Linked DNA regions of Homo sapiens: regions 2, 3, 4 and 5 are each linked to region 1. Evidence: promoter capture Hi-C in 16 types of primary human blood cells and fetal thymus (Javierre and others, 2016). All regions are on one chromosome and are shown on one strand. Each heading gives the region's core, a stretch centred on a gene start or on the middle of the fragment in contact. The rest is flanking DNA. Distances are from core to core; before and after follow the strand shown.

Region 1 (2,700 bases), core at 151-2,650:
TCTACACTCAAACTGTATCCCAATCTGACAATTTCTCATTGCCTCTTCCAGTGATGACCCTAATTCAAACCACCATCATCATAAGACCATTGGTCTCCAAAATAGTTTATACATAAATGAGCCTGTCATTGACATGTAGAGACCTGGGTCAACAGTACAGATGGAGGTCCCCAGCCAGTCCCCTTCTGTTCCCACTGCCATCCTTGTCCCACATCGTAAGAGGTCTTCTATTCCCACATGTGGACACTCCAGCTTGCATATCTAAGCTCTGTCTAGCCTTACCAAATTGCTCTCATTTGGCCACATTTTGTGGATAGGCAGCACATTCCACCTTTGGAAGACAGATCAAGGGAAGGGTCTTTGGACACAGAGGAGATACAGGCTCTGGAAGCAGGCTGGAGTCCATTTGAACAGGAAATCCTGGGGATTTGGATACCCAGAGCATGGTCTGAAAGAAGGTTGTGAGATCTTTGCAGGCATGTTTCTGCCTATGGACTTTCACCAGGAAGGAAACTGCTTGACTAGAGGAGGGCCAAAGTGTGGCCTTTTGTATGTTTAATAATATTAAAATGTTAAATATATTATTTTGACCAATTGAGAAATAATAATAATAATAAAATAGGCCGGGTGCGATGGCTCATGCCTGTAACCCCAGCACTTGGGGAGGCCGAGGCAGGTGGATCACAAGTTCAGGAGATGAAGACCATCCTGGCCAACATGGTGAAACCCCATCCCTACTAAAAATACAAAAATTAGCTGGGCGTGGTGGCAGGTGCCTGTAATCCCAGCTCCTCAGGAGGCTGAGGCAAGAGAATCGCTTGAACCCGGGAGGCGGAGGTTGCAGTGAGCGCCGAGATTGCCTCAATAAAAGATACCACAGACCCCGCCCATGGCAGGAGATGGGGGTGAAGGAACAGTAAGACCAGGAGACAGTCAGATACACATCGGATCAGTGGTATCCTCACAGTAACAGAAACGGTCACCCCCAATGTCAGCCACAGTCTCTTTCATCCACAATCACTTTCACATTCAGCTACCCACAATCACGGGACGTGATTTAAAATACAGAAGCTCCCTGCACTGACAAAATCCGCCGCTCCTTTCGTCGGCAAGCATAAAGGTGTGCAGCAACAGTCACACACGAACCACCACACCCAAGCATTCAACCAGTCAGCCCCGCGCGCAGCCTGGCCGCTTTCCCCAACACAGCAGCTCAAGGTCACTGGAGAGCCTACGACCGCACACAGCCCTCTCCGGTACCTGCCCCCGTGGCGCAGGCGCGCAGTGGAGGGGGCCGCGGGGTTCTCTGGGAGATGTAGTTCAACGATGACGGCCGTGGCGCAAAGCGTTCTGGGGCTCGTGGTTCGCGGGGTCCATGGGGAACGCGGTGTCGCTGGTTCAGATCTCGCAGAGCTCAGAGTCCTGCATGCCTCAGTCCTCGCCTCGCTCCTCCTCGCGGAGGATTCTGGGAGGTGACGTCGCGGGTCTCGGTCGCGGGGCCCGTTTGCAGAGCCCGCGGCGCCGGGAGGTGAGTGGGGCCGGGCCCCGGGCGGGAGCGGGAAGTCAAGGGCGGGCTCCGGGTGGCCCGGCCGCGCCAGGGATGGGAACCCGGCAGGAGTCGCTGGGGAGGCCGTGTGTGTTTCACTGTATTACCAACTATGTGACAGGCTGCGGGTGTGACAGAATGTGATCTTGTGTCACTGTGTGTGTGTGTTTGTGCGCGTGCGCCCGCTTGTGTGTGACTGTAACCATCTGTGTCTGGGGGTGAAACTGTGAATATGTGTGTTTGTGTGTGACTGTCTCTGCAGGTGTAGCTGTGTATGTGTTTATGAGAGACTGGGGTGTGACATTGTGTGTTTGTGTAAATGCATGTGTGTGGTTATGTGACCACCTGTTTCTGCGGATACAATTGCGTTTGAATGTGTGTGACAGCAAGTGTGATTGTGCGACTATGACCATCTGTCTCCGCAGGTATAGTTTTGTATCAGTAATTGTGACAAGATGTGTGACTTCTGTGGTATGCTACTTTGTGTGTGATTGTGTGTGATTGTTTATCTCTGTTGGTGTAGTTGTATGTTACCATCTATCTTTGTGCTTATGTGGCTGTGTATTGTGTGAGATTATGGGTGTGTTTGTGTGACTCTATACATTTGTGATTGGGTGAGAATTTGTGTGTATATATGAGATTGTGGGATTGATGTATGAAGCACAGAAATATTAGAATTACCCAAGTTCACACAGTTAACAAGTGACAGCACCAGAACTCAAACCCAAGCAGTTTAGCTCTAGAGGTCTCGCTTTTTTTTTTTTTTTTCTCTTGAGATGGAGTCTCACTCTATTGCCCAGGCTGGAGTGCAATGATGCGATCTCGGCTCACTGCAACCTCCGCCTCCCAGGTTCAAGTGATTCTCCTGCCTCAGCCTCCCAAGTAGCTGGGATTACAGGCGCGCACCACCACGCCCAGCTAGTTTTTGTATTTTTAGTAGAGACGAGGTTTCACCATGTTTGGCCAGGCTGGTCTCCAACTCCTGACCTCATGATCCGCCCACCAGAGCCTCCCACAGTGCTGGGATTACAGGCGTGAGGCGCTGCGCCCTGCTGCAGTTTTTATGGACAATTTCAAGCTGCACTACACTAAGGAAATAACTGCTAGGGACTGAGTTGCCTAGTGCAAAGTAGTCCAGAATTAGGGGGTGAAAT
Region 2 (2,807 bases), core at 155-2,654, 6.7 Mb after region 1:
TGAGATCGTGCCATTGCACTCCAGCCTGGGCATCAAGAGGGAAACCCCACCTCAAAACAAAACAAGACAAAGCAAACAAAAAAAACAAATCGTAGTAGAAACATAAAATATTATGAAGTACTGGTACATGCTGTGATGTGGATGAACTTTAAAAGCAGTATGCTGGCAGGGCGCGGTGGCTCACGCCTGTAATCCCAGCACTTTGGGAGGCCGAGGCGGGAGGATCACGAGGTCAAGAGATCGAGACCATCCTGGCTAACACGGTGAAACCCCGTCTCTACTAAAAATACAGAAAAATTAGCCAGGCGTGGTGGCACGCGCCTGTAGTCCCAGCTACTCGGGAGGCTGAGACAGGAGAATCGCTTGAACCCGGGAGGCGGAGGTTGCAGTGAGCTAAGATCGTGCCACTGCACTCCAGCCTGGCACTTTTTTTGAGATTCCGTCTCAAAAAAAAAAAAAAGAAGCAGGATGCTAAGTGAAAGGTGTCAGAAACAAAAGGTTCCATAATGTATAATTCCATTTATATGAAATGTCCACAATAGGTAATTCAATAGGACAGAGATTAGTGTTAGACAGTGACTGCTTAGTGGGTATGGGGTTTTTGGGGTGATGAAAATGTTTCCTAACTTTTTATTTGTACTACATATATCCTAAAATGGTGAATTTCACGTTTTGTGCATTACACCTCAATAGAGATGTTTTAAATAATAAAATACATTAAAATGTTTTGCATAGATAAAACAATAAAAAAAAACGTTTTTGTTGAGAAAATATTTGCGAGATAAAATGTTAATATCATGAATATAAGAACAGTGCTTGAAAAGTGAGGGATAAAACCAAAAACTCAATAAGAAAGTGGGCAAAACATCTGGACAATTTACAAAAAATGTAATAATGACACCTGAAAATATGCAAGAATATGCCATCTTTACAAGAGTTATAAATTAAAACTACATGCCATTTCTTACCACTGGCAAAACTTATTTGAAGAGTGTATCATCTCGCTTGTTCCCTTTCCAGTAACACTCCTGTCCTCACTAGAGGGGTTTAGACTTCAGGAATTCCTTTCTATACGGTATTTTCTCTTAGGCACCCAGGGAGAGGGAAGGACGACTCTCAGGGTAGAAGTCCACATTTCCCAACAGGCGCTCGGGGGTACGAGATTCGTTCCCCGTGGGAAGAGTGGTCAAGGGCTTCCCAGTAGTCGTCAACACTTCCCTTTGAGTGTAATGCTGCAGGAGTACAGTCCAGACCCTCAGTGGAATCGCGGTCGGTTTAGCTCCGGCAGTTGGGTCCCAGGGAATTCTGGGAAGTGTAGTCCAGACGCTCAGTGGAGTCGCGGTCAGTTTGGCTCCGGCTGGCGGGTCCCGGGGAATTCTGGGAAGTGGAGTCCAAACATTCGGTGGAGTCGCGGACACTTCCGCTCGGGGACTGAGGTTGCTGCAGTTTTTCCGCGATAGTTTGGGGCAGTTCCGCGCGTTGCAGGCCCTTCTGAATTTCCTGGACCTACGCATTGGATCCTCAAAGAACTGGTGATCGAATTAGGGGAAAAGGGGCCTCGTCGGAGAGTAGAGGTTTGGAGGGGCAAGGGCCGCTGTTTGCGTTCTCGTCCGTGGCACCTTCTTGGGCTTGGGTCTGTCCTCGCTTCCCGGGGGCATTGGTACTTGGTTGGGTCGCGTCTCACCTGGTTTCAGGGTTTCCGGGGCTCTGAGCTCGCCCACTCCGCCCCCTGCACCCCACGCGCGTGGCCACTTCTTCTCGATATAACGTTGGGGTGTTAATCTCCTTGGGTTTCCCGTTACTGTTCTTTAAAATGGGGACTTTAGGGCCATCCTAATGGAATCGTTTTGGGAACTGGAAGAGGTAACACAAATGAGAGCCTTAAAGCAGTCCCTGTCACTTGGTGACTGGTGGTCTCTTGTTAATTTCCCACGAAGGACCGGGTGGGGTCAGAGCTCCAGCTGCAGGGGCCTCGGCCCTTCTCCCTGATCCCTGCAGGACGCTGGATGATCCCGGAAGCCTTCTGACCTCTTTTTAGGAGAGCGAGGGTTGCGTCCACTTTCATGAAGGGAAAGGAGCATTTAACTTTTATGGGGGACGGCGACGCGGTCAAGGTGTTTCACAGCTTTCTCGTTCCCCAACCCGACCTTTCCAGAAGAGCTGCAGGGAGGGACTTCTTGGCTTCTGAGGGCAAAGCTCTACGTGAGTGGTCCTTGGCTCTTTGACCGAGATGCTCACCCCAACCGAGAGTGTATAGGTTGTGTCCTCGGGCATGGGGGTCGATAATAATTAAGTCTTAATTAGTAACTTCATTCTAAGGGCTTTATACAAATAAATTTACGCCACACCGTGGCTCTGTGGAGAAGTATTGCTTTTTTCTATTTTAAAAACGAAAGTGAGACACAGAGCGCATAGGCACCCGACTAGTGAGAGGTGGAGCTGGGGTTGGAACCTAAGCAGTCTGGGTCAGAGCCTGATTTGATCTTCTCTTGGGATACGTTGTCACTGAGGCAGAGGAACTAGTTGGACTTAGGTGGGGAAAGCAAGACTTAGGGGCTTGAAATTTTCTGAGTTTCTAAAAATGTTGTCAACTATTTTGTTTCAATCATTACAAATATTTTGTATTCTTATAGAACCATGTCATTGTACAGCATTCTATTTTTCTTTATTAAGAACAAAATGGGCCTGGCGCGGTGGCTTACGCCTGTAATCCCAGCACTTTGGGAGGTCCAGGCGGGCGGATCACGAGGTCAGGAGTTCGAGACCAGCCTGGCCAACATGGTGAAACCGCATCTCTACTAAAAAAT
Region 3 (2,700 bases), core at 11-2,510, 6.9 Mb after region 1:
TGAATCTCCTAGTGCTATAAGACTTTTAAACTAAGTATGTGCATCTTTAAAATATAATAACATGTTAATGAATAAAACAGATACTTAACTATAATACAAGGTTTTACTTAGAATTAAAGAAAGAAATCTAGCTCGTTTGAAACTAAAATTACTTTCTCTGAGTTTGGCATCAGTCAGATGCTACTGCACTAAGCTATACTTTATTCTCTCCATAAAATGAGGTGCTGTGTATGAGAAAATGAGTCTAAAACTTTAAAGATTAAAAAAATGGTAGAATTCTCAGAATCCTTATTTGGGAAGAGAAGTTACATGGGGAAAAACTGCTATTGTCAATGTCCTTAAAATGGCAAAATTCATAGATTACATAAACATGGAGAATGAGGAAAAATAAAAACAAGTAAATGATGGAAAATGATGTGATCATTTAAAAAGCAGGTGATATAAAATTAAATTTAAAAAATTCGAAATTGTACCTAAAGTATGATTATATATGTTGAGTGCAAATGAAAAGGAATGTGGGAAATGATTTGTAAACATATTTGTAATGTGAGAGTTGTTTTCCATTTAAAAAATATATCTGTTAGGCCACGGCAGGAGGATCTCTTAAGCCCAGAAGTTCAAGACCAGCCTGGGAAACACAGGAACACCCCATCTCTACTAAAAATAATTAGCTGGTTGTGCTGGTGTGTGCCCGTGGTCCCACCTGCTCAAGAGGCTAAGGTGGGAGGATCTCTTGAGCCCAGGCCCAGGCTGCAGTGAGCCACTGCACTCCAGCCTGGGAAACAGGGTGAGACTCTGTCTCTAAATATATATAGAGATTTATATTTACATATATATATATATATAAAACTATATACTTATATATGAGTATATATATACTTATATATATATAACTATATACTTATATATGAGTAAATATATACTTATATATATTTGTATGTGTTTATATATACATATTTGTATATAAATATATACGTATATATTTGTATGTATTTATATATACATATTTGTATATATAAATATATACGTATATATGTATATATTTATATATAAATATATACATATATACGTATATATTTATATAAAATATACGTATATATTGTATACATTTATATAAAATATACGTATATATTTGTATATATAATACATATATACAAATATACGTATATTTCTTATAAATATATACATATATATTTGTATATAAATATAAAATATATACGTATATATAAATATATAATTATATAGAAATATATTTTAGAAATTAACAGATATATATATATCTCTCTGTTAATTTTTATACTATTATATTGAAATAAAAGGCAACAACCTGGCATATAACAACATTCCAAGTGCCTTTCGTTCCCTTTTACTGTTCCCAAACAGGAAAAATGTGTCCAATCTTTGTGAAATGAGATGTCATTTTAAGAAACACAAAGGCAAACCAAACTTACCTGGAACTTGGTCATTTTTCCCCTCCTCCTTCTGGGAAAAGGCAGAGTTCCGGGGAAGTGAACCTGAGGGAGGGAAAGGCATCATGAGATAGGTTAGGGATGGCATTAGTCACCATGGCACTTTTATGTGACACTTCAGAGAAAGGTCCCCCTGTCTCTAGGCAGACACAGTTGCACACGGCTTAGTGAGGAGAACGGGAGCTAGCTCCCAGCTACCCCTCGGCCCCCTCAACCAGCTGCTTTTGTTCATGAACATTTCATATTAACAGACCTAAATCAAATACAGCTCTCTGTGTACTCCTTCTGAACTTTAGTTTCCAAGGAAATGAGACACAGACAGGCAGGGGAATGTAACAGAGCCAAAATGCCTGGCTTCAAATTTTGGCATTTCTACCTATTTTCAACTGATCAGCAGTATAAACCTTAAGCGAATTATTAATCTCTCTGTGCCTTAATTCAGTTACCTGTGAATGGGGACAATAATAATGCCTGTATTCTCTATTTCCTGCAGCTTCTGACAAGCAAGTGCTATTATGCTTCATAAAACTGCCCTTTTGAGTATGCTTTCTAGAAAATGAATCTTTTAAGAAACCCAGAACTCAAAAATAATTGCTCTGTCCTGTGAGTTACCATTACCCTCAGAAAAGTCTGTAACTGTGATTGGTTGTCTAACATAATTAGTTCCGTTGGTAATGATAGTTAAACTGCCACAGGTTTTTTTTTCCTCCAACAGATGTAATTACTTGCAAATGTTACTAAGCTGGAGGAGCCTCAAGAAAGTCTCTTTTTCCACATGCATGAAAGCAATGACTAATAAAAACCTAAAACTCTCTAAGAAATGGTGTTACACTTAAGTTAACCACACGGGATTATTGGTTATAACCACATTATACTGAACATTTATTAGGGCCTCAGGACACCTCTGGCACTCTGCAAATCCGTAATGACGATCGCTTATCTGAGATAAAACACACAGGACATTCCCCAGGCTCCGCTGGAACTAATTCCTGTCTCCTAAACAAGAGGCTAGAAAAGTCCAAGAATCCAGGAACGGCCCCACATCAGGCAAGGATTAGAGAAGGGACAGCGGCTCCGTAGCTGGATCTCCTAGACTCAGAGGAGTTTCCAAACAACAGGCGTCTTTTTCAGTATTATAACAGAATTAACGGTGGCATCCAACATTTTCCTATGCACTGGTTTTAAGCTTATTTCTATAAAACCTCATTTAATTCTCACAAGAACATCACTG
Region 4 (2,700 bases), core at 170-2,669, 6.5 Mb after region 1:
TCCCAAAAACCTATGGAAATAAAAAATTAAAAAAAAATCAGACCCCCAAAATATTCAGAGTAGTACTTGTGGGAGTCATTGAGCAAGTAACATGGGAAGAGAGGAGGCTGCTTCCACCAGTGGTTTTGGAGGTGGAGCAGATGCTGATGATAATGAAGTCCCAGATGGGAAACGGGGATGGGTGCCGAGGAAAGCTCAAGGACCCTGCAGATGAGGACTCAGACCCACGATACTGGATGAGGCATCCATGTCACCATGGGAGTCAACCAGGGTAGTGGCCTCAGCTGAGGCAGGGGAAAAGCTGGGATCCAAGAGCTCTAGTCTTCTCTTGATAAGCAAGAGAGACCAGGAGGTGAGAGATGGCAGAGGATGAGAGAGGTGATATCAGTGACCAGAAAGAGCCCCTAAAAAGTAACTTCCTTTTCTTTCTGTTAGTTTTAATATAAAATTTCGCTTTAATATTTTTAGACAATTCTTTTTTAAAAAAGTATTTATATCCAAAGGTTCTTACCACACCAACCACAGCCCCAATCTTTTTGCCCTAACCTCAGAATCAGTTAGTTGTCTCCTTTAAAACCTTTCTCTCTCTCACACACCCACACACACACACACGCAAACACACAGGAGAGAGAGAGAGGGAATATATAGTATTGTTTTTGGAGTATGAGTGTGTGCTTCAGAATAAATGGTTTCATACTCTATAAAAAATGAGATTCAAATTTTATAATCCATCAAGTTTTATTGGAACACAGCCATGCTGGATTGCTTGTGCATTGTTTATGGCCGCCTTTGCACTGCCATAAGTCTCCACGGTCACAATATCCACTCACTACCACTTATTGTTGTCTTTCAACAGCGGCATATAAAATCTGTAACACAGTTCATCTCACACCTAATAAAACAGACTCACACAGGCATAAATTTAGAAAACATCCCATGAACATAAACAGGTCCACGCAGGGTCCCAGACACCGAATCGAACTAAGAAACTCCCTCACAGCAAGACACACCCATCTGTTCAATTGCCAGACACTGTTCCAGGCGCTCATACCCAGGTAAACTGGTAGTGTCGCGCAGGTCATTTCCAGCGAACTTACCCCGGATTCCCTTGCTCGCTCACGTCTAAGTCCCCAGACACCCCAGTCCCATCTTCGCCTGTTCTAGACTCCAGAATGCGTTCCTTAGCGAAAGCTGAGAACCTTTTAATTCGCTCTCAGTCAACACCAAAGACCCTCAAGCAAAAGCAAGAGCTCCCGGGCGTCTTCGAAAAAAGCGCCTTTGACAGGTGAAGCCAAGTTGCATGCTGGGAGCATCCCTGCTGTCCAGGTTTCAACTTCCGGAGACTCTGCCGCTGTGGACTACATTTCCCAGAAGTCTCCGGGGCACAGGCCTTTTAGGGGCGGGGCGAGCTTGCCTGCCAGAAGCTCCTCTCCCAGCCTGCGAGCATTTCCAGGCTCTTGTTTCCCATCAGCCTCTGGGTCCAAACTAACCACAGGTCTCTGGGTCCTTTTCCGGTGTCCTTAAGGTTCTTGGACTCTGCATGGTGAGTTGGTCGTGTCTGTAGAAGTAATCAGCCCGGGTGAAGCTGGGAGGGCTCGGCTGGCTTTACTGGGGCCCGACTGGAACCGGCAGTGAGGGTGGGGGTGGCATCGGGGGTGCTGGAGGTGGGGAGGGCTGGGTCACGGACAGAGCGTGTCGTGTCCGGATCCTCAAGCCTGTGTGCACGCGAGCAGCCGAGGGACAGTGTGTCTCAGACGGCGTGGCAGGGACGGGGCGTGTCCCCACGGAGGTGGGTGCAGTTGTGAATGTGTGACGGGCTGACAGGGTGCGTGGCCGTATTTGTAAATGTGATTTGCTTTGACCAAATGCTCTAGGTTCCCTTTAGCCTGTCTTCGGGCCTGCCACAATTAAATGACCGCAAGAAAGAAGTCTATGCTAAGCCCCATAATGAACGTTTCAAGCAAGAAGGATGAGAATTTTAGATCTGGAAGTGTCCGCGGGACAGGATCTTGTCAAGACCTGATGGGGAAGTTCTAGAGGTGGGATTCCTAGAAGAGGGGCCTCTAGGAGCTCTTTGGTGGTGAGCTACATGTTTCAGAGCCATTGCAAGCAGACCTCTGTCCCCAAGAATTGCCCTCAACACAGAGACAGACTCTAGCCTCCCTTTTCATTCCGTTTGGTTTTGTGTGGATGAAGGCAGAAGTGGCCCCAGAGGGTGTTTTGCTCTTCTTTTTCTTTTTTAATTAAGTCTGTGACGCGCTAGAAATGCTGATGTCTCATGTTACTGTTTTTTCCCCCAGTGCTGCCAGGTTGCCAGATTTCTAAGAAGGAGTTTGAAGAGGAGAAAAGGATTTTTGCATGTTTAGAAATCAAGGTTCAGGTGAGGTTTTTTATACATACTTTTTAAATACATACACATACAATTACCTTTGCTTCTAGGTCATGAGAACATTTTCTTTCCTTGGCCTGAAATATCTTGACTGGGTTTTCCCAGTTACATGACCCGCCATGCTGGTACATATTTCCTCCCAGTGGCCCCCTATTGTTCTTCTCCACAATTCTTACCCACCTGTTCATATGGCAAATTGTTCAAATACTTCAGTGCATTATGATGCACTGAAGAGTTATAGAAAGGCACCTCTTGTAGATTGCTATTAGAGCATTATTTTATACTATGATTATTTGAAGAGATTAGTAATT
Region 5 (2,700 bases), core at 173-2,672, 6.8 Mb after region 1:
TACCAAAAAATAAAAAATACAAAAATTAACCAGGTGTGGTGGTGCATGCCTCTTATCCCACCTACTTGGGAGGCTGAGGCATGAGAATCGCTTGAATCCAGGAGGCAGAGGTTGTAGTGAGCCTAGATCACGCCACTGCACTCCAGCCTGGGTGACAGAGTGAGACTGTCTCAAAAAAAAAAGACATTGGTTAGAAATGTAATTTTAGTAATGCACCAAGATGTAACAGTTTTTCTGTTGTTTGAGATAACACCTGGAGTTTTTTGTTTTATTTTTAAGAAGATTAATGAGTGCAGACAGAAATGTGAGGTTAGAGTGAAGGTTTAATAAGCAAAAGAAGAAAGCTTTTTGCCAGCAGAGAGGGGGACCCAAATGGAATTCCCCCTATGAGGCAGGGGTTTGGGGTTTTTATGGACTGGGAAGGGGAAGGAATGTGCTTAGTTTGTGGGCTATTTTGGAGAAAGTGTGACTTAGCTTGGCCCGGAACCTTGGCCCAGGACCAATCAGGTTGAAGTAAAGATATATAGAGACCGGACTTACAGTTTGAAAAAAAGAAAGTAGAGTGCCCACTGGAACCCACTGGAGCCCACTGTACCTATGCCCACAAAAGGAGAAGAAACCTTTTCCTGGGAGCCCGCTGACTATACAGAGGACAAAGGCATTCTTATGCCAGGCCTTGCTCCTTTATCTGAGCGAGCTGGAGGTATGTACAAGCTTTTATCCAAATGGGCTGGAGGTTTTTCTATCTGTGCAGCCGTGGGCATGTCTCCAGGCACAACACCCTGTGGTAGTTCCCTTATTGGTGCCTGCAGCTTAAATTTTTTTTCCAGGCTGCTTTTTATGTTATATAAAAATAAGACACTAACCCATGGGTCAGGGGCTCTCCAAAGACCCTTCCCTTGCTGTCTACCTAAGGCAAGCGAACTAACTCCTTTCAGAAATAGGTTTTTATAGCACATATTTATGTCTATGTGTCTGGATCTTGAAATACTGATATTTCTTCATTAGGTTCTTCTAAAAGTGTTTGAAAACACTACTTTTGATTGATTGATCAGTATACAGTAGTAATTCAAATTGCCAGTAAGTTCAGTTGTACCTTTAGTGTGTTTGTTTTAAATATGTGACTTTGCGTGTTCTAGGGCATCACCCCTTCAAACATGATGTATTCCTTTTAGAAAAGGAAAAAAAGCTTGATATAATGAAGACAGCAACTCAAAGAAAAGGGAAATCAGGTAAGAACCAAGCAGCTAAGAGTCCTTGTACGTGATTGTCCATCTGTTGTACTTCTCTCCCCTGCTCTTGCTGCCATCGGGTCCAAATTGCCAAACCTCTGTCCTGGATGATTGCAACAGCCTTCGTACTGGGCGCACTGCATCCACCCTCAATAGTATAAAGTATGTTCTCCTACAGGCGTTCTCCATATCATAGCTAAAGTGATCCTTTGGAAATGTAAGTCAGATTGCCATTCCTCTACTTAAGACCTTGTACAGGGCTGGGCACAGTGGCTCATGCCTGTAATCCAGCACTTTGGGGGCCAAAGCAGGAGGATCAGGAGTTTGAGACCAGCCTGGCTAACATGGCAAAACCTCGTCTCTACTAAAAATACAAAAATTAGCCAGGCGTGGTGGCCAGCGCCTGTAGTCCCAGCTACTCAGGAAGCTTAGACAGGAGAATCGCTTGAACCCAAGAGGCAGGTTGCAGTGAGCCAAGATCGCACCGCTACACTCCAGCCTGGGCAACAGAGCGACACTCCATCTTAAAAAAAAAAAAAATACTCTGAATGGCTTCTTATTTTTCTTAAAGTTGAAGTCTCTTAAAGGAGCTTATAGAGTCCTGCGTGGTCTGCTGTTCATCCTCCTCTGCGTCTCTGACTACATCTCCTGTATTCTACCTCTTGCTCCATCTTTTCCAGCCACATCATCCTCCCTGCTATTTCCCAGACCTGGTAAGGACATTGCTCGCTCTGTCGCCCAGGCTGGAGTATAGTGGTGCAATCTCAGCTCACTGCCACCTCCGCCTCCCAGGTTCAAGCGATTCTTCTGCCTCAGCCTCCCAAGTAGCTGGGATTACAGGTGCCTGTAACCACGTCCGGCGGATTTTTGTATTTTTTATAGAGACAGGGTTTCACCATGTTGGCCAGGCTGGTCTCCTGACCTCAAGTGACCCGCCTGCCTCAGCCTCCCAAAGTGCTGGGATTACAGGCATGAGCCACTGTGCCCGACCTGGACACTGCATTTCTTACTGCTGCTGTAACATATTACCCCAAACTGAGTGGATTAAATGATAAAAATGTATTGTCTTTCAGTTCTTTGTTTGAAGTCCAACATGGGTCTCACTACGCTGAAATCAAGCTGTCAGCCCGTCCCTGTTTCTTCCCGGAGGCTCTAGGGAAGGAGAATCTGTATCGTTCCCTTATCAGTGTGTAGGGGCTGCCAAATTTCATAGCTTGTGGCCCTCTTCACAGCCAGCAACAGTGCTTCTCTGATCATTCTTCTATAGTTGCATTTCCCTTTTATTCTCTCTTCATCCTTTTTCCACTTTATAAGGACCCTCTAATTGCACTGGGCCCACTTGGATAATGTAGAATTGCCTTCTATTTTTAGTTCAGCTGATTTGCAACCTTAATTCCCTCTGCAACCTTAATTACCCTTTGTCATAACCTGACATATTCTTAGGATGAGAATTAGAACGTGGATTCTT

The links. Contacts are between HindIII fragments. The CHiCAGO score rates a contact against its expected background, and 5 or more counts as called.
Region 2: a contact is called between the fragment with the promoter of ZNF224 here and the fragment with the promoter of ZNF527 in region 1, in 9 of 17 cell types (non-activated CD4 T cells, total CD4 T cells, total B cells and 6 more). The highest score is 30.4, in non-activated CD4 T cells.
Region 3: a fragment that was not itself captured here is called in contact with the fragment with the promoter of ZNF527 in region 1 in 5 of 17 cell types (total CD4 T cells, naive CD4 T cells, total CD8 T cells and 2 more); the score reaches 8.8 in total CD4 T cells.
Region 4: the fragment with the promoter of ZNF283 here is called in contact with the fragment with the promoter of ZNF527 in region 1 in 9 of 17 cell types (non-activated CD4 T cells, naive CD8 T cells, total B cells and 6 more); the score reaches 24.0 in non-activated CD4 T cells.
Region 5: a fragment that was not itself captured here is called in contact with the fragment with the promoter of ZNF527 in region 1 in 2 of 17 cell types (activated CD4 T cells and naive CD8 T cells); the score reaches 6.0 in activated CD4 T cells.

The regions. Positions count from the first base shown.
Region 1 is chr19:37,369,699-37,372,398 of GRCh38, forward strand. It overlaps ZNF527 (zinc finger protein 527), which reads left to right and starts at 1,401. Exons shown (of 5, transcript NM_032453.2): 1 at 1,401-1,528. RefSeq lists enhancers at 771-910, 931-980, 1,151-1,460 and a silencer at 1,491-1,800. The HindIII fragment of the contact is 7,295 bases long and covers 1-2,700 here.
Region 2 is chr19:44,092,957-44,095,763 of GRCh38, forward strand. ZNF224 (zinc finger protein 224) reads left to right here and starts at 1,405. Exons shown (of 6, transcript NM_001321645.3): 1 at 1,405-1,574. RefSeq lists an enhancer at 1,215-1,324. The HindIII fragment of the contact is 10,144 bases long and covers 1-2,807 here.
Region 3 is chr19:44,301,939-44,304,638 of GRCh38, forward strand. It overlaps ZNF235 (zinc finger protein 235), which reads right to left. Exons shown (of 5, transcript NM_004234.4): 2 at 1,452-1,514. The coding sequence starts at 1,466. Among named protein-coding and RNA genes, the nearest start is that of ZNF235, 1.7 kb to the right of the region's middle. The HindIII fragment of the contact is 2,785 bases long and covers 1-2,653 here.
Region 4 is chr19:43,825,902-43,828,601 of GRCh38, forward strand. It overlaps ZNF283 (zinc finger protein 283), which reads left to right and starts at 1,420. Exons shown (of 7, transcript NM_181845.2): 1 at 1,420-1,543; 2 at 2,301-2,380. RefSeq lists an enhancer at 1,278-1,477. The HindIII fragment of the contact is 6,325 bases long and covers 1-2,700 here.
Region 5 is chr19:44,149,274-44,151,973 of GRCh38, forward strand. ZNF234 (zinc finger protein 234) reads left to right here. Exons shown (of 6, transcript NM_006630.3): 5 at 1,140-1,232. Among named protein-coding and RNA genes, the nearest start is that of ZNF234, 9.1 kb to the left of the region's middle. The HindIII fragment of the contact is 470 bases long and covers 1,188-1,657 here.